Regions from separate parts of the Homo sapiens genome. Here regions 1, 2, 4, 5, 6 and 7 are each linked to region 3. The links are contacts of gene promoters, found by promoter capture Hi-C in blood cells and fetal thymus (Javierre and others, 2016). All regions are on one chromosome and are shown on one strand. Each heading gives the region's core, a stretch centred on a gene start or on the middle of the fragment in contact. The rest is flanking DNA. Distances are from core to core; before and after follow the strand shown. Region 1 overlaps FPR3 (formyl peptide receptor 3). Region 2 has its middle 8.3 kb from the start of FPR3. Region 3 holds the start of SIGLEC8 (sialic acid binding Ig like lectin 8). Region 4 holds the start of FPR1 (formyl peptide receptor 1). Region 5 holds the start of SIGLEC7 (sialic acid binding Ig like lectin 7). Region 6 has its middle 43 kb from the start of ZNF577. Region 7 holds the start of SIGLEC9 (sialic acid binding Ig like lectin 9).

Region 1 (3,842 bases), core at 342-2,841, 360 kb before region 3:
TTGGCCAGACTCATGGTGCGATGGTTCTGGGCCCAGGCTGGATGCAGGACACAAATACAGCGGTCCAGAGCAATGATGGTGATCAGGTAGACACTGACAAACAGGTTGATGTCTATCATAACATGAACTAACTTACATAGGAATGAGCCAAAAGGCCATTTTTCTCTCATGGCGACTGAGACCATTCGGAATGGTAGGATGGCACTGAAAGAGAAGTCAGCTAGGGCCAGGTTCAGGTAACAGATGGTGTTGACTGTGCGTGTCATCCGGAATCCAGCCACCCAGATCACAAGCCCATTGCCCAGGACCCCGAAGACAAAGGTGACTCCGTGGACTAGCAATGAGAAGATCCACAGAACGGTGTGGCCAGCAGGCTCAGGGAGCACCTCCTCAGTTTCATTCAGAGGAATGGAGAAGTTGGTTTCCATCTTCCCACACCTGAAACATTTCAGCAATGGCCATTTCTCAGCTGTGACACCATCTTACAATACAACTATTCATTAACTTCCACTGTAGCTCCTCCTCCTACCAGCAGACCCTCCCCAGTGAGCCTTGTGAATGGTTATAACATAAAATTGGCACTCTCTCGGAGTTCCTTTGGGAAACGATAGTTCTCTATATTCCCATCATTATTAATATGCATGCCACCTATCAAGCTGATTACCAAGAGGATTAAAGGGCTCTGTCCACCAGCGGAAATACTGAACTGAGAGTGTATGGACAATGGAAAATTGAGCATAGGCAGCTTCAGCTTCGTGAGGAAGGCACAAGACTCAGAGTCAGAAGGTTCACATCTGTGGCCTCCATCACTCAATGCAAACATGCTGGCAAGCTCTGCAACTTCTTTCGGCCCCATGCTCTCCCAGTCTCCCAGCTCCTGTCCCTCCCACTGTGAGGACCCTTGACCTATTTTTTAGTTGATATTTAATTTGAAGTTTTAGGGTTTGGATTGAGTTAGCTGAAGAGGATTTTGAACCATTACTTGTAATATATAGACATATATTACATGCTATAGGCCGGGCGTGGTGACTCATGCCTGTAACCCCAGCACTTTAGGAGGTTGAGGAGAGTGGATCACTTGAGATCAGGAGTTGGAGACTGGCCTGGCCAACATGGTGAAACTCCATCTCTACTAAAAATGCAAAAATTAGCCAGGTGTGGTGGCAAGAGCCTGTAACTCCAGCTACTTAGGAGGCTGAGGCAGGAGAATTGCTTGAACCTGGGAGGCAGAGGTTGCAGTGAGCCAAGATCGTGCCACTGCACTTCAGTCTGGATGTCAGAGTAGATTCCATTTCCCCCCACAAAAAAAAAGAGCAGAAATATATTACATCCTATAGATTCTGTGCTAGATGAAGTCAACAAAGAGGGCCCTATATTTACTTTCTCCCGTCTGCTTTTCATTGTCCCTACTTAGCATCCGTTGTATATCTTCAAGGTCTGTGGGATAAACAGAATGAGCATGAATATTTAGCTAGTATTTGTAGGGTTCTTATCAGAGACTATTCACTGTGTTAATTGCTACATATGGGTTGTAGTTTGGTCTGCATAGTAGCTCTGTAATATTCATTGTTTGTAGTTTCCACAGGAATGACTCAATGTTGAGAGCAATTGTGAAATCTGCTGGTCACTTAAGTAGGAAACAGTAGACAAAGATCTTTAATCTAGCTTAGTCTGACTTCTAAGCCCTTTCTCTATGCAACAATTCTGACAGATATTGCTGGTGATGCCCCCTCCCCCCACAAATAACTGTTCCTCATTTCTTCTCTGCAAATCAAATCGCAATTTTGTTCAGTTACTCACTCTTTTGGGGGAAGGTATCCCTCCTCCATCTTTGCGGGCATATCTTGATTTTCTAATTTGTTCTAACTAGAATTCCTTTTGCTTTGCAAGGGATTGCTTTATTGGTGGAAACATGACTAAATTCTGGGCAATAACACTATGGGAGGATATCCTGGCATCTTTCTGGGATCTATTTCCTTGCTTTTAAGAAACAGAATCACAAAATTACAGTCCCTGCCTCTGCACCAGGTCACATGGGAAGCTGTTGCATCCAACTCAACCCAAAGGTCTCTGTGTCCCTTGTGTCTTTGCCACTTGACCAAATTTGCTTATACTGTGGTCTGTGGGCTGTATCAGAAACATCCAAGGTATTTGTTAAAATGCATATTCATGAACCCAACTCTAGAATCTCTCTGTGTAAAAGCTACAGTGATTTTTATGGCCAGGAAAATTAGAGACTCTTCCTACCTTGGGATATCCAGCCTCTCTAAAAGTAACAGCAATTATACAGCACTTGTTCACAAATAATACTCATAATAACATTGTGGGCAGCCATCATTACCCCTTTTTGTACCAGAGGGAATTCATGGCCTTGGGGTTTTTGTAGGTTTTTTTTTTTCAGCATCATGTCCAGCCGGTCAGTGGAGGCAGCAAGATTTGAAATTCAGGATGAGCAACTTTAGAGCCACTACCGTTGCAACTCTAAAATGCTGCATTTGAAAGGAGTTCCCCAGATATTTCCAGCATGTGGTCATACCCTAGTATCATGGTTTTTTCCTCCTTTCCCTTTCTCTCTTCCTTCTTTTCTTCCTGTCATTACCAGTCACTTTCACTGAGGTCTTTCATGGGACATTGTTTAATGTAGCTCAAGGTTTCTCAACGTTGGCACTACAGACAATTGGGGCTGTGTAATTCTTTGTTGTGGGGGACTGTTCTGTGCACAGTAGGATATTTAGCAACACCCCTGGCCTCTATCCACCGATGCTAGTAGCAACTCCCCCTTCAGGAGTGACAACTGAAAGTGTCTATAGACATTGTCAAAGGTCCCGTGGGAGGCAAAACTCCCCCCAGTTGAGCATCACTGTTACAGAGTAAAGAACACTGGGCTTTGGGGTCAGTTAGATCGCTACTCTTATCGTTGGCACCTTGCCAATATGGGTTCTTGGTCAGTGATATCTCTTTGAGCCTCAGTTTTCTCCTCTGCAGAACAAGGACAGTTTTGTGGTGAAGTCTAACTTTCAGGTGAGGATTAAGTGAGACTGGACATGGAAATCTTCTAGGCTAGACTGAGTGTCTGTGACAAATGGGAACTTCTGGTCCTCACCAGGCTGTGTGCTGTGTCATGGGGCTCAATCCTGGGTCGTGCCTTTTGAAGCTCAAGGTCAGGACAAGAACAATGCTCATAGCAATAGTGGCTACTACTTATGAACATTACTCACATGCCAAGAGCTTCTCCTTTAACCCTAACAACTGCTCTCACAGCCTCTGCAGATGAGACGTGTTAATCTGTGTGAGCACTGAGCACACCTTGAGACACGGTGAATATTGACTAACCTTAGTTTTAATTAGTATAACCATTGTACACATGAGGAAGTTGACTTATATTGGTTACATTAATTATTTAAAGCCCCCAGTCAGAAAGGGGTAGAACCAGAGTTGGAGCTCAATCAGACTGATTTCAACAGAATTGTATGGTTAACCCTCTCCCATTCCCTAGTTCCTCAACAGACTCAGATTTTCTCTACCACTCTCCAAATATCCTAGAAGACATTCAGACAGTATGATGTATCAATAATCTCTAAGTCATTTGGAAATGTTGACACATTCCAACAATGTGCAGTGACAGGTGGGGACAGGCCAACAAGACAATGTTGTAAAATTTTGGATCCACCCTAGTTACAAAGTGGAGAAGAGAACCGTGGACCAGAGATGATACCTGTACTGATTATGAGGGCTGCTATTTGGTGCAATCCCAATGTGTATCAACCAATGTGTATTTTATTATTTCTAATTACAACATCCTTGCTCTGGGACAAATATTGTTCTTGTATAATCCATAGGAA
Region 2 (3,627 bases), core at 131-2,630, 330 kb before region 3:
CAGTTTTAGGAAGAATAATTGGACTTCAAAAGACTTGCAAATGTGTTTGGCAATTAGTCTCTGTGGGGTCCTTTGCCTCTTTTTTTCTCTTGACATCTGGGTCCTTCTCCTTTATGCATAATGGTGTCCTCTGCCATTTCCCTTATTTTAATTCCCCCCTCCCAACCATCACACACACACAGTATTTTGGTTTCCTTGTGCCTCTTAGACACATCTATACTTCTTACCCTTCCTTCCTTGGGAATCTTCTAAAATGCTTCTTGTTATTAGGACCCAAAGATAAATTTTTATAAAATAAATCTGAACATATCTCGCCTCAGATCTAAAATTTTCAGTATTTTTTCATTTCATCCCTATCTTCCTGGCATGAGATGCTGTATTGTGAGACCAGGAGCTATGGCAGCTATCTTGGGGCCGTGAGGTGGCAATTTCCAGGAAAAAAAAAACACACCAAAATAGTGATGAAAAAGTGAAAAGATCAAAATAAACTTATTAAATGATATAATTTGGACAGAAAGTAATTTAGTACTACTCACTTGCAAAATTCTTGGAAAGCAAATAAACCATAAATGTTGTCTTTGGTTTAAGCCATTGTTAGGTGTAATTTTAAATTATAAACTACTTAAAATTGTAAACAGCCTTAATGACACAAAGCCTTGGGAATAATGCTTTTAGGTGGACTACCTTATTTCTGTCTCTGCTTCCCATTTATCTCCATACCACTCTGATACCCTTGGATAGAACCTAATATTTCAGAAAGCCCACCACCTCTTTGCACTAGAAACCTACAAATGAGCTTCCACTGGAGCCAAAAATTATGGGGTTAATCTTGGGGTGCCTGGGTGTGGATGCTCTGTCCTGTCAACTTCTCTGCCTCCCTTCAATCTCTCAGTGGTTTTGGTCTCCATCCTTCTCGTCTTCATTCTGCCTTTCATTGCTTCCCTCTAATTCTTCTGTTACTGGAAGGGGTCCTGATCCAGACCCCAAGGGAGGGTTCTTGATCTCGCACAAGGAAGAATTCAGCGTGACTCCATAGAATAAAGTGAAAACAAGTTTATTAAGAAAGTAAAGGAATAAAGCATGGCTATTCCATAGACAAAGTAGCCCTGAGGGCTGCTAGTTGGCCATTTTTATGGTTATTTCTTGATGATACGCTAAACAAGGGGTGGATTATTCATTCCTCCCCTTTTTAGACCATATAGGGTAACTTCCTGACGTTGCCATGGCATCTGTAACCTGTCATGGCACTGGTGGGGGTGTAGCAGTGAGGACGACCAGAGGTCACTCTCGTGGCCATCTTGATTTTGGTGGCTTTTGGCCGGCTTCTTTACTGCAACCTGTTTTATCAGCAAGGTCTTTATGACCTGTTTTTTTGTGCTGAACTCCTATCTCATCCTGTGACTTAGAATGCCTTCACTGTCTGGGAATGCAGCCCAGTAGGTCTCAGCCTAATTTTACCCAGCTACTATTCAACATGGAGTTGCTCTGGTTCCAGTGCCTCTGACATCATTACAGTACTTGCTCCTCTCTTTACCTTGACCCTTGGAGAGAGAAGGGTCCTGGACACCCAGATTCCTTGGCCCTTTAGGTTGAGAGGGTTGAATCTCTGCATCCCACAAAGACTGAGGTTGAGAAACACAGTCAGGTACTTTAGTTCCTAAATGGGCCCACAACAATCCACTGCTATTAAAACAAGTAGTATATTGGTGTGTTCTTAGGGCCATTAAAAATCAGAAGGAGCTCTGCTTTCTGTTTCCTGTTCCCCAACTGGTTTCAGTTCTCTTACTCCTCCTCCTGTCCCTTGGGCTAACTTCTGCTGTGAAAATTACATGACAGTGACTCTCTCCAGGAGATCAGGACCTAGAACTTCCCAGAGCAAGGACCCAGCTGGTGGAATATAAAATCCAGATGAAGAACATATCTCTGGGGATGGGGAGCTTGTTAAGGGCATACTTAATAGACGCTTTGGAGTACAATAGACTCTTTGGAGTGAGTAGAAGAATGTGAAGTTGAAGAATAATTTCTTTTCTTTTCTTTTTTACTTTAAGTTCTGGGGTACACGTGCAGAATGTGCAGGTTTGTTTCATAGGTATACATGTGCCATGGTGGTTTGCTGCACCCATCAACCTGTCATCTGCATTAGGTATTTCTCCTAATGCTATCCCTCCCCTAGCCCCCCAGCCCCCGACAGACCCCAGTGTGTGATATTCCCCATCCCTGTGTCCATGTGTTCTCATTGTTCAACTCCCACTTAGGAGTGAGAACATGTAAGAGATTCTAGGCAGGGCGCGGTGGCTCACACCTGTAGTCCCAGCACTTTAGGAGGCCGAGGCGGGTGGATCACGAGGTCAGGAGATCGAGACCATCCTGGCTAACACGGTGAAACCTGTCTCTACTAAAAATACAAAAAATTAGCCGGGCGTGGTGGTGGGCGCCTGTAGTCCCAGCTACTCGGGAGGCTGAAGCAGGAGAATGGCGTGAACCCGGCAGGGCGGAGCTTGCAGTGAGCCGAGGTTGTGCCACAGCACTCCAGCCTGGGCGACAGGAGCGAAACTCCGTCTCGAAAAAAAATAAATAAATAAAAACAAACAAAAAACCCTCAATCTAAGTTTTACCTCCTTTATAAAAACTAATCCAAAATGGATTACAGATTTAAATATTAAATGCAAAACTACTAACTTTTTAGAAGAAAACATAGAAGAAATAGTGAAGACTTAAGGCTAAGCAGGGAGTTCATAGACACGACACCAAAAGCACAATCCATAGAAGAAAAAAGTATAAATTGGACTTAATTAAAATGGAAAATATTTACTCTTTTGAAAGTTGCTATTCGGCTTCAGAGTCAATATAAAAATTTTAAAAACATAGCAAATCATGACATTCCCCTGCTCTTCATTCTCCAGTGGTTTCCAAATTTCTAACTCATGCTTACCAAGCTCTACCAGAACTGGCGCAGACATCATTCGGTGGAAATCTACTCCCCTTTCACAGAATAGCAGGTGAATGCAGAGGCTGTTTCAATAGATGAAGAGACAGAGAGTGAGAAATGCAAAGGCACTCAGATCAGTGATTGTAAAGATTGAGGGAAAAGGGTAATTTTGTGATTGACAGAAGGCAGCAATGAAGGTTATCAAGAGAATAAGTACAGTTTCATGGACTAGAATGGAGAGTGACTGAGAGGCTACTTTATCTTAGAGGCTCAGAAAACAATATCTTGAGGAGGTGACATGTGAGCTGAAATCAGAATTACATGAACTGCTAATGTGAAGTGTAACCACCCAATGGGTTCACCTTGCCGGCTGCCTAGACAGAGTCAATTTATCAAGGCGGGGAAATTGCAACAGAGAAAGAGTAAGTCACGCAGAGCCAGCTATGCAGGAGACTGGAGTTTCATTATTACTCAAATCAGCCTCCCCAACCATTCAGAGAGCAGAGTTTTGAAGAAGAACTTGGTGGGTGGGGGGAAGCCGGGGAGCCAAGAGTGTTGATTGGTTGGGTCAGAGATGAAATCACAGGGAATTGAAACTGTCTTCTTGCAGTGAGTCAGTTCCTGGGTGGAGGCCACAAGATCAGATGAGCCAGTTTATCCATCTGGGTGGTGCCAGCTGATCCATCAAGTGTAGAGTC
Region 3 (4,166 bases), core at 872-3,371:
GCCTGCACAGGAGTCTTCACTGAAGGCTTCAATTACCACTTGGGGACCATGGAAAAGACCTGTGCCATGGCTCGGCCCTTCTGACTATTGAGATACTGCAGCTGTCTCTACTGGGCAAGGATAGGAGGCCCAGGAGGGGGAAATGGCTGCAGAATGAGATACCAGCTACAAATGCAAGCATTGGTGATGGGGGTGGGAGTCGGCTATGCACACCCAAGCCCTGCACCTTCCCTTCTCAATTATCACAGCCGAATGATCTACTCCAGGTTATAAGTAATGAGGGGAAGATAGGAGACGGGCAGATCCATGAAGCTGAGTGGAAGAAAGTAGAGTTTGATTTTCTGTGTATACAAAGTCTTCAGAAAAACGTGCAAAAGCTTAGTAAATGCAGCCTGCTCAGATAATAAAACTATATAGAAAAGCATTGAGGCAATTTGCACCAAAGTGAGGCTAGGGGATCGTTTGGGAGGGAGTGGGGTGTGGCCAATAAGAAGGAGAAACAAATGAGCAGCGCTGGGGACTTTGTCAATGTGCCATTTCTAGGAGGGGGCTCGTTGTATGTAAATCACTGAGGTCTTCTTTGGGGGTTGTTTTTATCTATATTTCTTATATTTACCCCCCAAAAAATGTTTCAAGAAAATTGACCTGAGTCTAAGGAGGCTCCGCCTCCCAGGATCCCCCTTAACTTCTTCCCAGCCCCCAGCCACACAGTTTAAAATAATCTGTTGAGGCCAGGCACGGTGGCTCACACCTGTAATCCCAGCACTTTGGGAGGCTGAGGTGGGTGGATCATGAGGTCAGGAGATCCAGACCATCCTGGTCGACATGGTGAAACCCCGGCTCTACTAAAAATACAAAAATTAGCTGGATGTGGTGGCGTATGCCTGTAATCCTAGCTACTTGGGAGGCTGAGGCAGGAGAATCGCTTGAACCAGGGAGTCAGAGGTTGCAGTGAGCCGGGATCGCGCCACTGCACTCCAGCCTGGCGACAGAGAGAGACTCCGTCTCAAATAATAATAATAATAATAATAATAATAATCATCATCATCATCATCATCATCATCATCATCTGTTGAATTCAGGTGCACATTTCTTCTCTCAAGAAATCCTGCCCATCGCTGAAGGTGCACACCCCAGGGCTGGTGTCCTCGTTCCATGACACCTGTTCACCTGGACCCCTGGAAGCAGAGCCTGCAGGAGCAAAGCCCCAGGGCTGACAGACCCCGCCTGCTGTGCAGTAACCAGGGGAAGTGTGGCTGAGTAAGATACGGGTGGTGAAGAAACCCATTCTGATACCCAGATAGCTGCAACAAAGGGAGAAGTGTGTGCCCTTTTCAAATTGACCCTTTCCCTTCTGACATTTCTCCCTTCCAAACCCCACAGTACAACAGTTACAGCCTCAGTTTCCCAGGCCTCCTGCGAGCCAGGCTTCCCCCCGCCCCCCGTCCTTCGTGTGTATCAACATGCAGAATCCTCACCTCCACAGCCCCGTGTCCCTCTGCTCAGGCCTCCTGAGACTGAACCCCTGACCTAGGGGAGAACGACCCCACCTTGCCTGTGCCCCCCACTGAAGCTCCCGTCCTGGGGAGCTCAGACGTCAGGAGCCTCCGTGTCTCCCCTCTGCACAGTGACTCCTTGAGGACAGTGTCTGGCTCTGCTCTGTTGACCTCGTTGTGTAAAGAGGAGGTGCCCACTTCGTTGCTGCTGAGAGAGGGAGGAGAGGCTGCCTGCTCACCTCACCTGCACCCCAGTCTCTCATGGCCCTGAGTTCCACCTTTGGCTGGTATGACCTCCACAAACAGTGACAGCCCCGGGGGTGATTCAGGGGTCTGGCCAGATGGGACCCAATTTCACCTTGCAGAAAATGTTACCCAAATGGAAGGGCAAGTCCGGGAAGCAAGAAAGAGGTTGGGCCCTGCATAGGGTGGGAATCTGGATGAGTTTCTCACCCTCTCTGGCCTCAGGGTTCCCAGGAGTGGAAATGGGGTGGTGGACAGTGGATCTCCCAGGACTGACCCGGCCCTGACAGTGTCTGTGTGTGAAGTTCCTCCTCTGAGGAGGTCACTTTTCTGACTTCACCCCCAACCTCCTGCGGGACCTCCCCTAAGTCTTGAGACCTCAGTTTCTGAGAGAAGAACCCTGAGGAACAGACGTTCCCTGGCGGCCCTGGCGCCTTCAAACCCAGACATGCTGCTGCTGCTGCTGCTGCTGCCCCTGCTCTGGGGGACAAAGGGGATGGAGGGAGACAGACAATATGGGGATGGTTACTTGCTGCAAGTGCAGGAGCTGGTGACGGTGCAGGAGGGCCTGTGTGTCCATGTGCCCTGCTCCTTCTCCTACCCCCAGGATGGCTGGACTGACTCTGACCCAGTTCATGGCTACTGGTTCCGGGCAGGAGACAGACCATACCAAGACGCTCCAGTGGCCACAAACAACCCAGACAGAGAAGTGCAGGCAGAGACCCAGGGCCGATTCCAACTCCTTGGGGACATTTGGAGCAACGACTGCTCCCTGAGCATCAGAGACGCCAGGAAGAGGGATAAGGGGTCATATTTCTTTCGGCTAGAGAGAGGAAGCATGAAATGGAGTTACAAATCACAGTTGAATTACAAAACTAAGCAGCTGTCTGTGTTTGTGACAGGTAAGGCACGGGCTCCAGCACAGGCCACAGGGGAAGGTCATGAGGGGCTGAAAGGCAGGGCTGGGATGGGGCCTGGGAGGGGGTTGGGATTGAAATAAGTCGGTCTCCGGGGAGGAGCTGGACCAGAGCTTGAGCTTCCTCCAGGGCTGCACCTGAAATACCTCCTCCTGATCCTGTGTCCCCATCTTCACCAGCCCTGACCCATAGGCCTGACATCCTCATCCTAGGGACCCTAGAGTCTGGCCACTCCAGGAACCTGACCTGCTCTGTGCCCTGGGCCTGTAAGCAGGGGACACCCCCCATGATCTCCTGGATTGGGGCCTCCGTGTCCTCCCCGGGCCCCACTACTGCCCGCTCCTCAGTGCTCACCCTTACCCCAAAGCCCCAGGACCACGGCACCAGCCTCACCTGTCAGGTGACCTTGCCTGGGACAGGTGTGACCACGACCAGTACCGTCCGCCTCGATGTGTCCTGTGAGTGCTGGACCAAGATGCCCAGGTCCCTCATGGGTTGGGAGGTGTTCCTGAGGGCAGGGGATGGGGTTCAAGCCTGGACACTGGGTTCTGGGTCCCAGAATCTGGGCTGGGAGTGGGGTCAGGAGAATGCCGACTCCATTTTCCCTGTATTTGCAGCTCCTGGGAAGACAGGGCCAATGTCCCCAGTCCTTATAGTAATGTGGGTCTTCATGTCTTTCTGTCCCAGACCCTCCTTGGAACTTGACCATGACTGTCTTCCAAGGAGATGCCACAGGTAGGACAGAGCCCCCTCCCTGGGGTTGGGGGAGCAGGGCCTTCAGCTCAGGATGGGGCTGGGTCTCTCCTCATCCTGGAATCACTTTGGGAAACAGAGCTGCCACTGTGCGTGAGCCCAGGGCACAAGAGCCCACATCTCCAGCCCGCGTGACCATCTGAGCCCCTGTCCCCATCCTGTCCCTGCTCCCCTTAGACTCCTCCACACACCCCTTCCTTGGCCCCACAGCAAGGACAGGGTGACATTCACACAGCTGGATCAGACTCCCAATTTTTTTGGTTTTTGTTCGTTTTTATTTTGGGACCAGACTTTCAAGTTTCTTGTCAGGCATCTCCTGAATACTTCCTCTGTCTGATCTTTCTGTTTTCCCAGTAGTTTCGATCTAAGTACTTCTGCCCAGATGATACAGTCACATGGGCAGAAATTCAAAATGCACAGCAAAGTCTGTCCTCCAGTGCCCATCCCCCTCCACGGAACTGACCAGCGTCCGTCCAGGCTGCCCTGAGTCTTGGTTTGTGCACCTGGAGGATCTCAGAGGTGGTTTGACATCGTAGTGAGACTGTCCACCCCGTCCTCTAGGACCGTGTGTGATTTCACTGCACAGATGGACTCTGACTTTGTGGCATCCCTTAAGGAAAATCATGGCACAAATATCCTTCCGCAGAAACTGTGCAGTGGATAGTCTTGTATCTACTTCCACAGGAATATCTAAGTGTATGGGATAAATTCCTAAAAGCAAAATATACCAGTGTCGTATGTTGTTTCTAATTTTGAA
Region 4 (3,606 bases), core at 1,107-3,606, 290 kb before region 3:
AGGTGAGGAGAGCAAAGGCTGCAGATGAGTTTGAAAGGAAACAGGAACCCAAAATGATGTGTCTGAACATCAAGGGCAGGTCTGAGCTAGAGACAGGGGTCTGGTGAATGTTAGCTGAGGTGTGGTTCAAGTTTTAAGCATGGATGGGTTCACCGCAGAGAACGTGAAACAGCAGATAGAGAGGTTTATGTAATTACTAAGATATTGATAATACTTATTGCACTGGAATTCATGCCAAGTGCTTTGTATCACTGATCTTATTTGTTCTGCTCCAGAAAACACCTCTGTAAGTATCATTGCTCTCAATTCACAGGTGAAGTGTCTGGGACCCAGTGCAGTTAAATCAGGGGTCAAATCTAGCCACCGCTTGTTTTTGTATGGCCTGAGAGCCAAGAATGGCTTTAATATTTCTTACCGGCTAAAGAAAATCAAATGAAGGGTATTTTGTGCCATGCAAAACTTATATGAAGTCCAATTGTCGTGTTTTAAATAAAGTTTTATTGACATACAGTCATGCTCCTCATTTACAACTTTGCTTGTGGCTGTTTTCAGGCTACAACAGCAGAGCCAAGGAGTTGTGATGGAGACCCTATGGCCTGCCAAATGAAATATATTGACCATCTGGCTCTTCATAGGAAATGTTTGTGGCCCAGTGCAGTGGTTCCGTCCTGTAATCCCAGCACTTTGGGAGGCCAAGGCAAGTGATTGTTTGAGGTCAGGAGTTCAAGACCAGCCTGGTCAACGTGGCAAAACCATATCTCTACTTAAAAAATACAAAAATTAGCCAGGCGTGGTGGCGGGCACCTGTAATCCCAGCTACTGGAGAGGCTGAGGCAGGGGAATCACTTGAACCTAGGAGGCAAAACTGCAGTGAGCCAAGATCACACCACCGTACTCCAGCCTGGGTGACACAGTGAGACTCTGTCTCAAAAAAAAAAAGTTGGGGGAAATGTTTGAGACCCCTGGATTAGCTGGCTTGTCCGGAGCTAGTGAACAGTAGTCCTGGGATTCTAGTCCAGGCAATCTGGCTTTACCACCTCAGTCCAGTGCTTTACTGGGAGGCTGTGCTGCTCGCCGAGGCCATTTCTCATGTTTCAGTTACCAGAAGAGTCAGGGACTTTTGCAGCATAGGCAGGAATACTCCCATTCCGGTCAACCCTAAGACATCTTCCCTTTTAGCCTTACGCAAACACAGAAGTGGAAGTCCATTTTAAGACTTTCGCTTTTTTCTTCACCATAGTCACTTTGGAACACACACTTGGCTCTATTTTTGCCCAACCTAGTGTGCTAATCACAGGCCATTTGGTAGCCAGGAAGAAAACCTACTTATGTTTTAGAAAAGAGGGCTCATGGGAAACAGGTAGGGGTGTCCCAGGACCCCCGTTTTAGGAAGAACAGTCAGACTTCAAAAGACCTACAAATTTTTCTGGCAATTACTCTCTGTGGAGTCCCTTGTCTCTTGTTTTCTCTTGACATTTGGGCCCTTCTCCTCTGTGCATAATGATGTCCTCTGCCATTCCCTTTATTTTAATCCCCTTACAAAGTGTTGGCTTCCATGTGACTCCTAGGCACGTCTTCATTTGTTACCCTTCATACCTTGGGAATCTTCTAAAATGCATCTGTTGTTATGATCCCAAGAAAATGTTTATAAAATACAAACACAAATGTTTATAAAGTACAAATGAACATATCACCCTTCTGATTAAAGATCTTCAGTGATTCTCCATCTCATCCCCATCCTCCTGGTGTGGGATGCTGGAGTGTAGCAGTCCCCAACATTTTTGGCACCAGGGACCAGTTTCATAAAAAACAATTTCTCCATGGGGTGGCGGGGTAGATGGTTTCAGGATGATTTAAGCACATTGCATTTATTGTAGACTTTATTTCTATTATTATTATTACATTGTAATACACAATGAAATAATTATACAACTCACAATGATGTAGAATCCGTGGGAGCCCTGAGCTTGCTTTCCCGCAACTAGACAGTCCCATCTGGGAGTGATGGGAGACAGTGACAGATCATCAGGCATTAGATTCTCATAAGGAGCACACAACCCAGATCCCTGGCATGCACAGTTCACAGTAGGGTTCACACTGTTATGAGAATCTAATGCCGCCACTAATCTGACAGGAGGCAGAGCTCAGGCAGTAATGCCAGCAATGGGGAGTGGCTATAAATACAGATGAAGCTTCTCTTGCTCACCTGCCAGTCACCTGCTGTGCAGCCCACTTCCTAACAGGCCACAGACCGGTATCGGTCTGTGTATTGGTCTATGGCCTGGAGGTTGGGGACCCCTGCTGTAATGTGAAGTCAGGAGCTGTGGTAGCTTTCTTGGAGCCATGAAGTGGCAATCCCCAGGAAAAAAAGTCACCATATTAGGGATAAAAAAGAGAAAAGATTAAAATGAATGTAGTTCTTGATGATATTTTCCAGATATAACCTAACCTAGTATTACCCTCTTGCAAAATTCTTGTAAAGTAAACCATAAATTTCGTCTTGGTTCTAAGCTAAGCTTGTCCAGCCCATGGCCTAAGATGGCTTTGAATGCAGCCCAACACAAATTCATAAACTTTCTTAAAACATTATCAGATTTTTGGGGGATTTTTTTTTTTTTTTTTTTTTTTAGCTCATCAGGTATCGTTAGTGTTAGTGTATTTTATGTGTGGCCCAAGACAATTCTTCTTCTTCCAGTGTGGCCCAGGGAAGGCAAAAGATTGGACACCCCTTGTTGAAGCCATTGTTAGGTGTAATTGTAAATTATAAATTACTTAGAATTAAAAACAGCCCGGCTCATGCCTGTAATCCCAGCATTTGGGGAGGCTGAGGCAGGAGGATCACTAAACCCAGGGGTCTGAGACATGCCTGGGCAACGTAGCAGGATACTGTCTCTAAAAGAAAAGAAAAAACAGTCTTAATGCAACAATGCCTTGGTAATAATGCTTTTAGAATCAGTGTCGTTATCTCTGATTCTGTAACTGTCTTACCATATTTCTCCATATCACTCTGATACCCTTGGAAGGATGCTTAACATTTCAGAAAAACGGTTATTTCTTTGGGCTAGAAGACTACAAATGAGCTTCCACAAGATCAGAGGATTATGGGGTTAATCTTGGTGGTGTGCATGGGTGTGGACGCGCTGTCCTGCCAACTGTCTCAACTTCCCCCACTCCCTTACCTCTCTCTGTGTTTCTGGTCTCCATCCCTCATGACTTCTTCTCTTCCTTTCATTGCCTCCCTCTGATTCTTCTCACCACAGTGCTTGCTGCTTTCTTTACCTTGACCCTTGGAGGGAGCAGGGGCCCGGACACTTGGATTTCTTGGCCCTTGTTGTTGAGAGCACTGAACCTCTGCATCCCACAGAGACTGAGGCTGAGAAATACAGTCAGGTACATGAGTTTCTAAACAGGCCCAGCCCACTGTCCTAATGCCATTAAAGCAGACAGTATATTGGTGTATTCTTGGGGCCATCAAAAATCAGAAGAAGCTCAGACTTCCTATTTCCTGCTACCCAGCTGGTTTTAGTTCCTTTACCCCTCCTCCTGTTCCTTGGTGTATGTTTTGCTGCAATCATTAGAGCCTGAGTCACTCTCCCCAGGAGACCC
Region 5 (4,233 bases), core at 692-3,191, 320 kb after region 3:
ACCTTTCCCTGTGGTGTCTCCTGGAGCCTGTGCCTTATCTGTCACATTCACAGAGAGCTGCTTCGTTTTGTAATTCCATCTTATCTGTCCTCTCTCCACCTGGAAGTAGTAGTTCCTCAAATCCCCCTTCCTGGCATCTCTGATGCTCAGGGAGCAGTTGTTGGTCTTCAGGTCCCCAAGGAGGTGGAATCGGCCCCGTGTCTCCTGCACTTTTCCATTTGGGATGTTTGTGGCCACTGGATTATTCCATTGTATATTGATCCCTTTCTTAAACCAGCATCCATGGACAGGGCTAGAGTCAGTTCAGTTGTAATAGGGTTAAAGGACACTGCAGGGCACAGAGACGCACTAGCCCTCCTGCACCATCACCAACTCCAGCACCTCCAGCCTGTATCTTGACAGTGGGGCCTGGGACGCTGTGGGGAAATGAGGCTCAGCCCAGCCCCGACTGTCCCTCTCTTCATTTGCCCACAAGAGAGGCAGCAGCATCTCTGAGACAGAGGGTTCCTGGGCTCCTTGTGTGAGCAGAGAAGTGGGAGGGAGAGGAGGGGCAGGGCTGTGGGACCCACAGGGGGCTGGAGAGGGGCTGGAGAGGAGCTGGAGACCTCAACCCAGCACGAAAGAGAAACTACAAACCCACATGCTATAGGAACTGGTTCCCTCTGCACAGAGTGAAGGAAACCCTGAAGCTCAGAGACCCTAGAGACCCACCCAGGGAGGAGAAGAGACCGTGTCCCACCTCCTACCTCCGGGCTTCCCTGGAGCACCAGGGCCTGCACCAGACACGTAGGTCCTGCCCTCCCGGCCTCTGGACCATCGTGGAGGTCCCTCCTGTCTTTTGAGCATCTAAATGTGGATCTCCGAGGACCTCAGGGCATGAGAGATGGAGGGGCCGTGTGCTGAGTCTCCCTGTCCAGGCTCAGGTGCCTCTGCTGCCCTTGGTTTGCGCCAGGAAGTGCTTCCTCCCTGGCCTGGCCTGAGAGAGTCACGGGGTTGTGTAGACCTAAGGCTCTCAACTGGGGAGGACTTAACCCCCCAGGACGTTTAACAATGTGTGGAGATAATTGTTATTGTCTCACTGCATGGGTGGAGTGGGTGCTTCTGGCATCTGGTGGGGAGAGGCCTGGGATGGTGCTAAACCCCGGCCATGCCTAGGACAGGCCCCAAAACAAGGAGTCATAAGGCCCCACATGCCACAATGCCAGCGTCAGAGGCAGGATGAGGATGTCAGGCCTGTGGGTCAGGGCTGGTGAGGGGAGGGGCCTGCAGGATCAGGAGGGGCATCCAAGGTGCGGTCCTGGGGAAGCTCAGGCTCTGGTCCAGCTCCTCTCCTGAGTCCATCACCCCCGGCCCCCTCCCAGGACATGTGTCCCGTCTCAGCCGTGCCCTAAAGCCCTCATCACATTTGCCTTTGGCCTCTCTTGGAGCCCGTGCCTTACCTGTCACGTTCACAGAGAGCTGGTCATATTTATAATTCCATTTTATATTTCCTTTCTCCATACGAAAGAAGTATCTCCCCGCATCACTCATTCTGGCATCTCTGATGCTCAGGGTGCAATTTTTGGTCTGTGGGTCCCCAAGGAGGTGGAATCGGTCCCGAGTTTCCTCCTGCACTGCCCAAGCTGGGTTGTTTGTGGCCACTGGAGCCTTCCAGCTTATATCATTCCCTGCCCGGAACCAGTAGCCATGAACTGGGTCAGAGTCAGTCTGGCTGTCCACTGGGTAGGAGAAGGAGCAGCGCACATGGACACACATGCCCTCTTGCACGGTCACGGAACTCTGCATCGTCAGCGAGTAATCCTTCCGGTTACTCTTCTGTCCTTCCACCCTCTCCCTCCCCCAGAGCAGGGGCAGCAGCAGCAGCAGCAGCATATCTGGGGTTGGAGGTGCCAGGGCCGCGAGGGAACGTCTGTTCCTCAGGGTTCTTCTCTCAGGAACTGCGGGCTCAAGACTTAGAAGAGGCCCTACAGGAAGTCGGTGGTGAGGTCAAAACAGTGACCTCCTTAGAAGAAGAACTTCACACACAGACACTGTCAGGGCTGGGTCAGCCCTGGGAGATCCACCGTCCACCACCCGACATTCACTCCTGGGTCCCTGAGGCCAGAGCGGGAGACAGACTCACCCAGATTCCCACCCCATGCAGGGCCCACCCCACCTCCTGCCTCCCTCTCAATGCCTTTCCCTTTAGGTGATATTTTCTGCAGGGTGAAAATAACTCCCATCTGCCCAGACCCCTGAGTCACAGGCTGTGGATGTCTGCGTAGCTCAGAAGTGGGACTCGGGGCCATGAGAGACAGGGGTGCAGGTGGGGTGAACAGGCAGCCTCTCATCCCTCCCTCAGCAGCCACGAGGTGGGCACCCCCTTTCTGCACAATGAGGTCAACACAGCAGAGCCGGACACTGTCCCCAAGGAGTCACTGTGTGGTGGGGAGACACTGAGTCTCCTGACGTTTGAGCTCCCCATGACAGGAGCTTCAGTGGGGGGCACAGGCAGGGTGGGGTCACTCTCCCCTAGGTCGGGGGTTCAGTCTCAGGAGGACCGAGCAGACGGACATGGGGCTGTGAAGGTGAGGATTGCGCCTGTTGATACACGCCAAGGACACGGAGGGGAGCCCAGCCTGCAGGAGGCCGGGGAAGCTGAGGCTGTGATTGTTGTATTGTGGGGCTTGGTAGACAGGAAAGTCATAAGGGAAAGGATCAATATGAAAAGAGCAGACACTATTCCCATCCTCACAGCTCTCTGAGCACAAGGACATTTCCCTTCACCACTGCTATCTCATGAGGCCTGGTTAGTGCAGAGTGTGAGGGGTCTGCTGGCCCTGGGGCTTTGCTCCTGCAGGAACTGCTCCTAGGGGTTCAGGTGAACAGGAGACGTGGAGCAAAGACACCAGCCCCGGGGCGTCCACCCTCAGTGATGGGCGCGATTTTCTGAGAGAAGAAACACGCACCTGACTTCAACAGAAGATTATTTTAAACTGTGTGACTGGGCTGGGAGGAAGTGGGAAAAATCCTGCAAGCTGCAGCCCCCTTAGATCCAGGCCAGCTTTTCTTGAAACAGTTTTTTTTGAGCGGGGAGAAACACAAGACATGTACATAAAAGTGTCCCCTAAAAACCAACTCAGTGATTCACACAAAATAAGCACCCTTGAAGAACTAGAACACAAAAGAACTGTCAAGTCTGTCCCTTGAAATGAAGAAAGAGATTTTATTAATTCATTCACCCTTACATTCCCCTTTCCTATTGGCCATGCCCCCGCTCCCTCCTGAAGGAGCCCCTAGCCTCACTTTAATGATAATAGTCTTCCTGCTGTTCTATGTAGTTTTATCATCGGCACATGCTGCCTTGAAAATTCTAACTTCACGTAGGTTTTCCTGAAGATGTTGTATACATAGAAAATCCCAGTCTGTTTTCTTCCATACAACTGCATTGATCTGCTCAGCCCACACTGTCCCCTAATTGTCCATAACCTAGAGATCATTTGGCTGTAACGATTGAGAGAGGAAGATGCTGGGTTTGGGCGTCCGAAGCCACTCCCCGCCCTCACCTCCAATCCCTGCATTTGCAGCTAGTATCTCATCCTGCAGACCAATCTGCCTCCTGGGCGCCTCCTCCTTGCCCAGCCACTCTCTCCCCATAAGGATATTTGCAGTATCTCAGTGGGCAGAAGTGTTACCGGATGGTGCCATGCAGTTCCAGGCTCTTGGTGTCTTAAACAAAGAATTGGATGAGACACACACAGACAGCAAAGCAAGAAGCAGCAGTTTATTAAGCACAGTATCACACTCTTGGAGAGGGAGAGCGAACTGATCTCTATGAGGTGAGATCAGCATTACTTTGGGTCTTTTTATGTTTGTTTGTTTGTTTTTTTGTTTTTCTTCGCTTCCCAAGGCTGCCAAATCTCTATCCAGTGTCTGCCTTTTTTCGGGGGGAAGGGGTGGTGGTGAGGTGGGGACGAAGTCACCCAAGCTTGAGTGCAGTGGCACAATCTTGGCTCACTGCAACCTCAACCTTTTGGGTTGAAGCGATTCTTCTGCCTCTGCCTCCCTGGTAGCTGGGACTACAGGCGCCCGCCACCATGCCTGGCTAATTTTTGTATTTTTAGTAGAGATGGGGTTTCACCAGGTTGGCCAGGCTGGTCCTGAATTCCTGACCTCAAGTGATCCGCCCACCTTGGCCTCCCAAAGTGCTGGGATTACAGGCGTGAGCCACCGCGCCTGGCCAGTGCCTGCCTT
Region 6 (3,733 bases), core at 398-2,897, 390 kb before region 3:
GCCTCAAGTGATCCACCGGCCTCGGCCTCCCAAAGAGTTGGCATTACAGGTATTAGCCATGGCACCCAGCCAATATCTCTTCTTTTAAGGTCACTAATTCCATATTGAAGGCCCACCCTCATGACCTCATCTAACCCTAGTTACCTTCCAGTGACTCATCTGCAAATACGTATTAATAGATACTTGACAAAAGGTAGCTATTATTATGCAAATGTATACCTTTTATTTCTTATAGAGACAAGAACTCACTGTGTTATACAGGCTGGTCTCAAATAAAAATTTATTTGTTTTTAGAAATAAAAAATTAGCTGGGCATGGTGGACTAATTAGCTGGACACACATGTAGTCCCAACTACTCAGGAGGCTGAGGTGGGAGGATTGCTTGAGCTTGGGAGGTTGGGGCTGCAGTCAGCCATGACAGTGCCACTGCACTCCAGCCTGGACAACAGAGCAAGACTCTGTCTCAAAAAAAAAAAAATAGAACCACCATATAATGCAGCAATCCTACTACTGGGCACATATCGAAAGGAAATGAAATCAGCACTTTGCAGATATAGCTGCACTCCCATGTTCATTGCAGTGTTATTCACAATAGCCAAGAGAGGTAATCAACCTAGGTGTCCAACAACAATGAATGAAGAAAACGTGGCATATATACACAATGGAATACTCTTGAGCCACAAAAAAGAAGGAAATCCTGTCACTTGGTGACAACATAGATGAACTTGGAATACATTATGTTAAGTGAAATAAGCCTCACAGAGAAAGACAAATATTGCATGATCTCACTTATGTGTGAAATCTAAAATTATTGAATTCATAGAAATGGAGAGTAGAATGGTGGTTACCAAGGCTGGGGGAGGGAGAGGGTTGTGGAAATGTTGGTGAAAGAATAAAAAATTTCAGTTAGATAAGACATGAACTTTTATGTTTAAGAGATCTATTGTACAACATGGTGACTGTAGTAAATAACAAGGTATTGTATTATTTCTTTTCTTTTTTTTTTTGAGGCAGAGTTTTGCTCTTGTTGCCCAGGTTGGAGTGCAATGGTGCAATCTTCGCTGACCATAACCTCCACCTCCCGGGTTCAAGCGATTCTCCTGCCTCAGCCTCCCGGGTAGCTGGGATTACAGGCATACACCACCACGGATAATTTGGTATTTTTAGTAGTGACCGGGTTTCTCCATGTTGATCAGGCTGGTCTCAAACTCCGACCTCAGGTGATCCGCCTGCCTCTGCCTCCCAAAGTGCTGGGATTACAGGTGTGAGCCACCGTGCCCGGCCAAGTATTGTACTCTTGAAAATTGCTTAAGAGAATAGATTTCAAGTGTTCACACCACAAAAATATGGCAAGTATGTGAAGTAATACATATGTTAATTAGTTTGATTTAGCCATTCCACAGTATATACTTATTTCAAAACAACGTATTGTACTGATAAATACATACAATTTTATTTGTTAGGTATAGGAAATGAATTAATTTTAAAAAGAAAAGTCTTTTTATTTACGCGGACTTGCTCTTTATTATTTCTACTTTAAAACACATTTTTGTTTGAATTCATAGATGCTGACTTCTTAGAATGAGGCAGCTCCTGTAAAGGAAAAAAGTATATCTCATGTCCAGAAATTCATCTTTGTTGAGGATACCCTTGATGAGACATTATCAGAATTGCAGGACAAACAGATACTAAAAGTACTGGCCATCTTCTGAAAGCTCTTGAACATGACAAAGTTCCAAGTGAGGTGTTTATTTACTTCCCAGTAGATTTTTAGAAGTTTATAACCATATATGTAATCAAAGAGAAAAATGAATATAAGTACACTCTGGCTGGCAGGGATGTGGTTAGACTAGGAGACAGAATAAATGATCAAGAGTAGCCAGTTAGGAAGGGAGATCTATCTCCATGTCGTAGGGTCCTGAAAGGTGCTAATAATTAGACAATTGCCATATAAGTAGCAGGATCTAGAATTAAGTTGCAAACATTTTTGTGGCAGTACTGACAACCATCACAAGAGAATTTTTAAAAGTTACAAGATTTACTTTGTCCAGAAGGAGAAAGCACATAAAATCGTTGATATCAGTAAATATTTCCTGGGCATCCAGTGTGAAGAAATGTCTCTGATGGATCTTCCTCTTCCTCTTCAGTTTTTGTGTGCCAGCATATGGACCCAGTGAACAGTAATCTTTAAGGAAATGTGGGAGATATAAAAGGCACAGCTAGGAAACTTAAAATCTCTTCTTTATAAAAAGAACATAATAGTGCTTAAACAAGGGTTATTGTGCAGATTATTATGTTAATATATGTAAAATTTGTAGAATGATACATAGCACATAGTAAGAAGTCTGTTTTTCTTTATGAGTATCATCATTTAATTTGTAGCACAATTTCCAAAATGCAATTCTGACCGTAACTTACTTATGTAAAAAAAAAAAAAAAAAAAAAAGTGTAGTGGCTATCGAGTATCTTAAGGAAATGTGTACCCTTTGCTCCAAGACATGTTCCTGCTTTTCAAATGGGCATTTCTTCTCTTCAGCTTCTCCTGTCTTAATGAACTATTTGCATTTCTTTGAACGCAGAATGGTATTTAATACAGATACATATGTTGCCCCCTTCCAAGGAAGCCCCCATTTCTTCCACTTCTTCCTTTAGAACGCACTACTAATCATGCTACCAGCTTGTCTACCTCTTCAGAACAATTATGGCCTTACCTAATTGTGCTCACATATTAGCTTGAGCATACTTCTGTCTTAGTCCTTGCTAATCCATAATACCATGCAATACATAGGCTTTCTGCATAGGACTGTATTTGCTACTCTGTGCAAGATCAGAAACACTTGAAGGAAGGACTAACCTTTATTGTTTTTATTGTAATATGTATAATGAATTACATTAAATGCTCCTAAGGTGGGTTACAGATGGTTTTTAGGTAGTTTAAAGGTTTAAAAGACACTTTACATCGGGCAAATGAATGAAAGAGTAAACAAGTGAATGAAGAATGCACAAAGAAAAGATAGTTTTTAATGTATTCCACTCACAAAGTGCAAACCAAAACTAGGCACAGGAAAATCTTCGTTTGTGAATCTTTGTGGTAAAGATAAAGAGAATAATGTCCTACGAGTCTTATAGACTGAATTTTATTATATTAACTCCAGAATTTAAAAGGATTATGTTATTATAGGGTTTATCATCATTCAATGATGTGGCTGTTGACTTCACCTGGGAGGAGTGGAATCTATTAGACCCTGTTCAGAAGAACCTCTACCAGGATGTGATGTTGGAAAATTACAACAACCTAGTGTCACTGGGTAAAGACAACTTTCCTAAATATCTCACTGTAAGCCGATTAATTGCCTTTTTTTCTATTGCCACAATTTGTGGGTACTCTGATATCCTCAATGATTTTGGACTTTGACTTTTAGAACTTTTTTTACTTTATAATCGTACAGTGACCATATGTAATTTCACTTTCCAAATGAAAGGTTTCTGTTCTGCTGAGATGTATACTGTGCATTTCCTGAAACAGAACTTTTTCTCACAAGCTCTAATGCTGCTCAGATTCTCTGTGATTACCTCTTGACAGGTTGTCAAGCTACCAAGCCAGAAGCAATATTCCAGTTGGGGAAAGAAGAACAAGGAATAGTAGAGAGAGAATTCCCAAGTTGGTGCAGTCCAGGTGAGTGAAACCAATGCGATGGGAGTTAGTGGAACCAAAGTACTAGTTGGCCATTGA
Region 7 (4,221 bases), core at 1,534-4,033, 330 kb after region 3:
TTTTTTTAAAAGATTATTGCATTGCAATATGATTTCATTTGATTGCTGACTTGCTGGGCTTTTTCTTTTTTTTAATTTGATGCTCAAAGCAAGTATCTCAGTTGTGTGACTCCAGTTCAGCCCTGCAAAGAAAGGCGCTTGTCTCCCTAAACACACCTGTCCGGCCCCATCCTGTCCCCTCTGAGATCCACTCCTGCCCTCTCCCCACCCCACAACCCTTCCCTGGCAGGAAGAGGACAGTGGTGCTGTGGGTCCCAGGGAAGTTCCAGACCTCACAGCTGAGCACAGACCAGAGCGGAGCTCCTCTCTGAAGGTCCACGCTCAGCAGTTACTAAGGGTGGAGGAGGTGTGTTCTCCTCTCCAGCCCCTCCCCAGCATACTGGTGCACTCACTCTGCAGGGAGACGTTCAGGTAGACCTGCTGAGAGCCGAGAGGGTTCTGAGCTCTGCAGGTGAATTCAGCTGCATCCCTCAGGTGCACCCAAGGCAGCTCCAGCACCCCCGGGTTTGAGGGCTGTGAGGGGCACAGGGTCAGGCCTCTCCAGCTCAGGCTCAGCCTGGCAGGGGGATTGCTGTCAACTGCATCAACTGCACAGACCAGGCGCAGAGACTGGCCCTCTGGGAGTGACAGAGATGAGCCATTTCCCAAGACTGTGGATACTGTAGAAAAAGAGACAGAGGGTCAGAGAGATACATAGATCTGGAGAAAAAGGAAGGATACAGAAAGAGACTGATGACAGCAACTGACACACAGACATAGACTGAAGTTCTGGAAACACACACTTTCACCACTCACTGCTGGGAATGTAAACTTCTCCCCGCTTCATCGAGAACAGTTTGGGCTTATCTTTCAAAATAAGAAAGAACATATAATGTAGCTACATTTTGCTTTTAGGAACTTAACCCACAGGCTTAGATATTCCTGTGGAAGTAGATACAAGATTGTTCTATCCTGCCGTAGGATGAAATTAGTGCCGTGATCTTCCATTAGGAGATGCCACAAAATCAGAGTCCATCCATGCAGTGGACTCACACACAGCCCTAGAGGAGGGTGCGGACAGTCTCACTACGGACGTCAAACCACCTCTGAGATCCTCCAGGTGTACAAACCGAGACTCAGGGCAGCCTGGATGGACAGTGGTTGGTTCTGGGGAGGGGGGCAGGCATCGGAGGAGAGCCTTTGCTCTGCAATTTGAATTTTTGCCCATGGACATTTATCACCTGTCCAGAAGTACTTAGATCAGAACTATCAGAAATAAACAGATAAGGGTGGAGATGTATTCAGGAGATACATGAGAAGGAGCCTCAAAGCCTGGTCCTGCTGTGTGAATGCCACCCTCTTCTTGTTTGAGGCTGAGGGGGGGGTGTGTGGGGGAGTCCAAGGGAGGTGATGGGAGGATGGGAACAAGTGGCCTTGGGGCCTAAGGATACAGAGGGGCCCTGAGTTCACCCACAAGGACATCCCTGTTTGCCAAAGTGAGTCCAGGTTGAGGAATAAGCCAGCCCCATCCTGACCTGAAGGCCCTGCTCCTCCAGCCCCAGGGAGGGAGCTCCATCCTACCTGTGCCGTCTCCTTGGAAGACAGTCATGGTCAAGTTCTGAGGCGGGTCTGGGACAGAAAGACATGGAGACCCGCATCACTGTGAGGGCTGGGGACACTGGCCCTGTCTGTCCCCAGGAGCCGCATAAACAGGGAAGGCAGAGCCAGTGTCCTCCTGACCCCACCACCAGCCCAGATTCCGGGACCCAGCACCCAGTGTCCAGGCTTGACGCTCACCCCATCAGGGACCCAGGCGTCCCGGCCCAGCACTCACAGGACACGTTGAGATGGACGGTCTTGTTCGTGGTCACGCTGGCCCCAGGGAAGGTCACCTGACAGGTGAGGCTGGTGCCATGGTCCTGGGGCTGTGGGATGAGGGTGAGCACCGAGGAGCGGGTGGTGGAGGGGTCCAGGGGGGACACGGAGGTCCCTATCCAGGAGATCATAGGGGGTGTCCCCTGCTCACAGGCCCAGGGCACAGAGCAGGTCAGATTCTGGGGGCAGCCGGACTCCAGGGTGCCTGGGATGAGGATGTTGGGCCTGTGGGTCAAGGCTGGTGAAGAGAGGGGGACTCAGGATCAGGTCAGAGGATCCATGGTGCAGCCCTGGGGGGAGCTCAGGCTCTGGTCCAGCTCCTGCCCTGAGCCAACTCGCTTCACCCTAAGCCCTCTCCTGGGGCAGGGGCTCCATCCCAGCCTTTCCCTGCCGCCCCCATGACCTTTCCCTGTGGCCTTTCCTGGAGCCTGTGCCTTACCTGTCACATTCACAGAGAGCCGGTGATGTTTATAATTCCATTTTATACTTCCTTTCTCCATACGAAAGAAGTATCTCCCCGCATCACTTCTTCTGGCATCTCTGATGCTCAGGGTGCAATTCTTGGTATGTGGGTCCCCAAGGAGGTGGAATCGGTCCCGAGTCTCCTCCCACACTGCCCGAGCTGGGTTGTTTGTGGCCACTGGAGCATCCTGGTCTGTATTGGCCCCTTCCCGGAACCAGTAGCCATGAACTACTGGGCCAGGGTAAATCCAGCCATGCGAGGGGTAGGAGAAGGAGCAGGGCACATGGACACACAGGCCTTCCTGCACCGTCACGGAACTCTGCATCGTCAGCAGTTTACTTGTCTGTCCTTCCGCCCTCTCCCTCCCCCAGAGCAGGGGCAGCAGCAGCAGCAGCATGTCTGGGGTTAGAGGTGCCAGGGCCGCGAGGGAACGTCTGTTCCTCAGGGTTCTTCTCTCAGGAACTGCGGGCTCAAGACTTAGAGGAGGCCCTACAGGAAGACAGGGGCGAGGTCGGAACAGTGACCTCCTCAGAGGAGGAACTTTACACCCAGACACTGTCAGGCCCGGGTCAGCCCTGGGAGATCCACCGTCCACCACCCCATGTTCACTCCTGGGTCCCTGAGGCCAGAGCGGGAGACAGACTCACCCAGATTCCCACCCCATGCAGGGCCCACCCCACCTCCTGCCTCCCTCTCAATGCCCTTCCCCTTAGGTGACATTTTCTGCAGGGTGAAAATGAGTCCCATCTGGCCAGACCCCTGAGTCAGAGGCTGTGGATATCTGCGTAGCTCAGAGGTGGGACTTGGGGCCATGAGAGATGGGGGTGCAGGTGGGGTGAGCAGGCAGCCTCTCATCCCCCCCAAGCAAGCACGAGGTGGGCACCCCCTTTCTGCACAACGAGGTCAACACAGCAGAGCTGGACACTGTCCCCAAGGGGTCACTGTGCGGAGGGGAGACATGGAGGCTCCTGACGTCTGAGCTGTCCACGGCAGGAGCTTCAGTTGGGGGGCACAGGCAGGATGGGGTCACTCTCCCGTAGGTCAGGGGTTCAATCTCAGGAGGACTGAGCAGAGGGACATGGGGCTGTGGAGGTGAGGATTCTATGTGTTGATACACGCCAAGGACACAGAGGGGAGCCTGGCTCGCAGGAGGTCTGGGAAACTGAGGCTGTGACTGTTGTACTGTGGGGCTTGGAAGGGAGGAAATTCGGAAGAAAAGGGGCAGATTTCAAAAGGGAAGATATTTCTCCTTTCCTCACTGCACCACGAAGGGTTTCTTCACCACCGATGTCTCGCTCAGCCACACTTCCCTGGTTACTCCAGAACATGAGGGATCAGCTGGCCCTGGGGCTTTGCTTCTGCAAGCTCTGCTCCCAGGGGTCCCGGTGAACAGGAGATGTGGAGTGAGGACACCAGCCCCGGGGCATGCACCCTCCGCGATGGGCAGGATTTCATGGGAGAAGAAACATGCACCTGAATTCAGCAGAAGATTTTTTGTAACTGTGTGGCTGGGCTGGGAGGAACTGGGAGTATCCTGTGTGGTGGAGCCTCCTTAGACCGATGTCAGTTTTCTAGAAATATTTTTGGGAGAAATATAAGCCATATAGATAAAAATGTCTTCCCCCCAAGAAAAAATCTCAGCGGTTTACACATATGAACATGCTTAGAGAAACAGAACACTGGGGATGCCGCAACACCTCCTCTTTGTTACCCCACTTCCTGTCAGCCACACCCCACTTCCTCCTGAAGCAGCCCCAGCCTCACTTTAACGCTAATGGTCTCCATGCTTTTCTAGGTAGTTTTATCATCTGTGCACGTTGCCGTGAATACCTCAGGCCCCCATGTTTGCCCAGTCGCTCCCTGGGAAGTTGCAGCATCTCAACTGCAATGGTCAGAAGGGCTGA

What was found. Contacts are between HindIII fragments. The CHiCAGO score rates a contact against its expected background, and 5 or more counts as called.
Region 1: a contact is called between a fragment that was not itself captured here and the fragment with the promoter of SIGLEC8 in region 3, in 3 of 17 cell types (M2 macrophages, monocytes and neutrophils). The highest score is 9.7, in M2 macrophages.
Region 2: a contact is called between a fragment that was not itself captured here and the fragment with the promoter of SIGLEC8 in region 3, in 2 of 17 cell types (neutrophils and monocytes). The highest score is 11.4, in neutrophils.
Region 4: a contact is called between a fragment that was not itself captured here and the fragment with the promoter of SIGLEC8 in region 3, in 2 of 17 cell types (monocytes and total B cells). The highest score is 6.5, in monocytes.
Region 5: a contact is called between the fragment with the promoter of SIGLEC7 here and the fragment with the promoter of SIGLEC8 in region 3, in 12 of 17 cell types (neutrophils, monocytes, non-activated CD4 T cells and 9 more). The highest score is 16.6, in neutrophils.
Region 6: a fragment that was not itself captured here is called in contact with the fragment with the promoter of SIGLEC8 in region 3 in 1 of 17 cell types (monocytes); the score reaches 5.9 in monocytes.
Region 7: the fragment with the promoter of SIGLEC9 here is called in contact with the fragment with the promoter of SIGLEC8 in region 3 in 3 of 17 cell types (neutrophils, fetal thymus and erythroblasts); the score reaches 13.5 in neutrophils.

Annotation. Positions count from the first base shown.
Region 1 is chr19:51,820,335-51,824,176 of GRCh38, reverse strand. FPR3 (formyl peptide receptor 3) reads right to left here. Exons shown (of 2, transcript NM_002030.5): 2 at 1-438. The coding sequence starts at 428. It also overlaps a transcript of ZNF577 not described here. Among named protein-coding and RNA genes, the nearest start is that of FPR3, 27 kb to the right of the region's middle. The HindIII fragment of the contact is 5,603 bases long and covers 1-3,842 here.
Region 2 is chr19:51,784,998-51,788,624 of GRCh38, reverse strand. No RefSeq gene overlaps it. Among named protein-coding and RNA genes, the nearest start is that of FPR3, 8.3 kb to the left of the region's middle. The HindIII fragment of the contact is 5,296 bases long and covers 1-3,627 here.
Region 3 is chr19:51,456,409-51,460,574 of GRCh38, reverse strand. It overlaps SIGLEC8 (sialic acid binding Ig like lectin 8), which reads left to right and starts at 2,121. Exons shown (of 7, transcript NM_014442.3): 1 at 2,121-2,641; 2 at 2,836-3,114; 3 at 3,344-3,391. The coding sequence starts at 2,188. The HindIII fragment of the contact is 20,005 bases long and covers 380-4,166 here.
Region 4 is chr19:51,751,861-51,755,466 of GRCh38, reverse strand. FPR1 (formyl peptide receptor 1) reads left to right here and starts at 3,589. Exons shown (of 2, transcript NM_002029.4): 1 at 3,589-3,606. The HindIII fragment of the contact is 324 bases long and covers 2,195-2,518 here.
Region 5 is chr19:51,140,009-51,144,241 of GRCh38, reverse strand. It overlaps SIGLEC7 (sialic acid binding Ig like lectin 7), which reads right to left and starts at 1,941. Exons shown (of 7, transcript NM_014385.4): 1 at 1,440-1,941. The coding sequence starts at 1,872. It overlaps LOC124904749 (a long non-coding RNA gene), which reads left to right and starts at 3,732. Exons shown (of 3, transcript XR_007067310.1): 1 at 3,732-3,818. The HindIII fragment of the contact is 9,764 bases long and covers 1-3,969 here.
Region 6 is chr19:51,842,764-51,846,496 of GRCh38, reverse strand. It overlaps a transcript of ZNF577 not described here. Among named protein-coding and RNA genes, the nearest start is that of ZNF577, 43 kb to the left of the region's middle. The HindIII fragment of the contact is 5,979 bases long and covers 1-3,733 here.
Region 7 is chr19:51,123,468-51,127,688 of GRCh38, reverse strand. SIGLEC9 (sialic acid binding Ig like lectin 9) reads right to left here and starts at 2,783. Exons shown (of 7, transcript NM_014441.3): 1 at 2,294-2,783; 2 at 1,814-2,092; 3 at 1,561-1,608; 4 at 393-659. The coding sequence starts at 2,714. The HindIII fragment of the contact is 17,590 bases long and covers 1-4,221 here.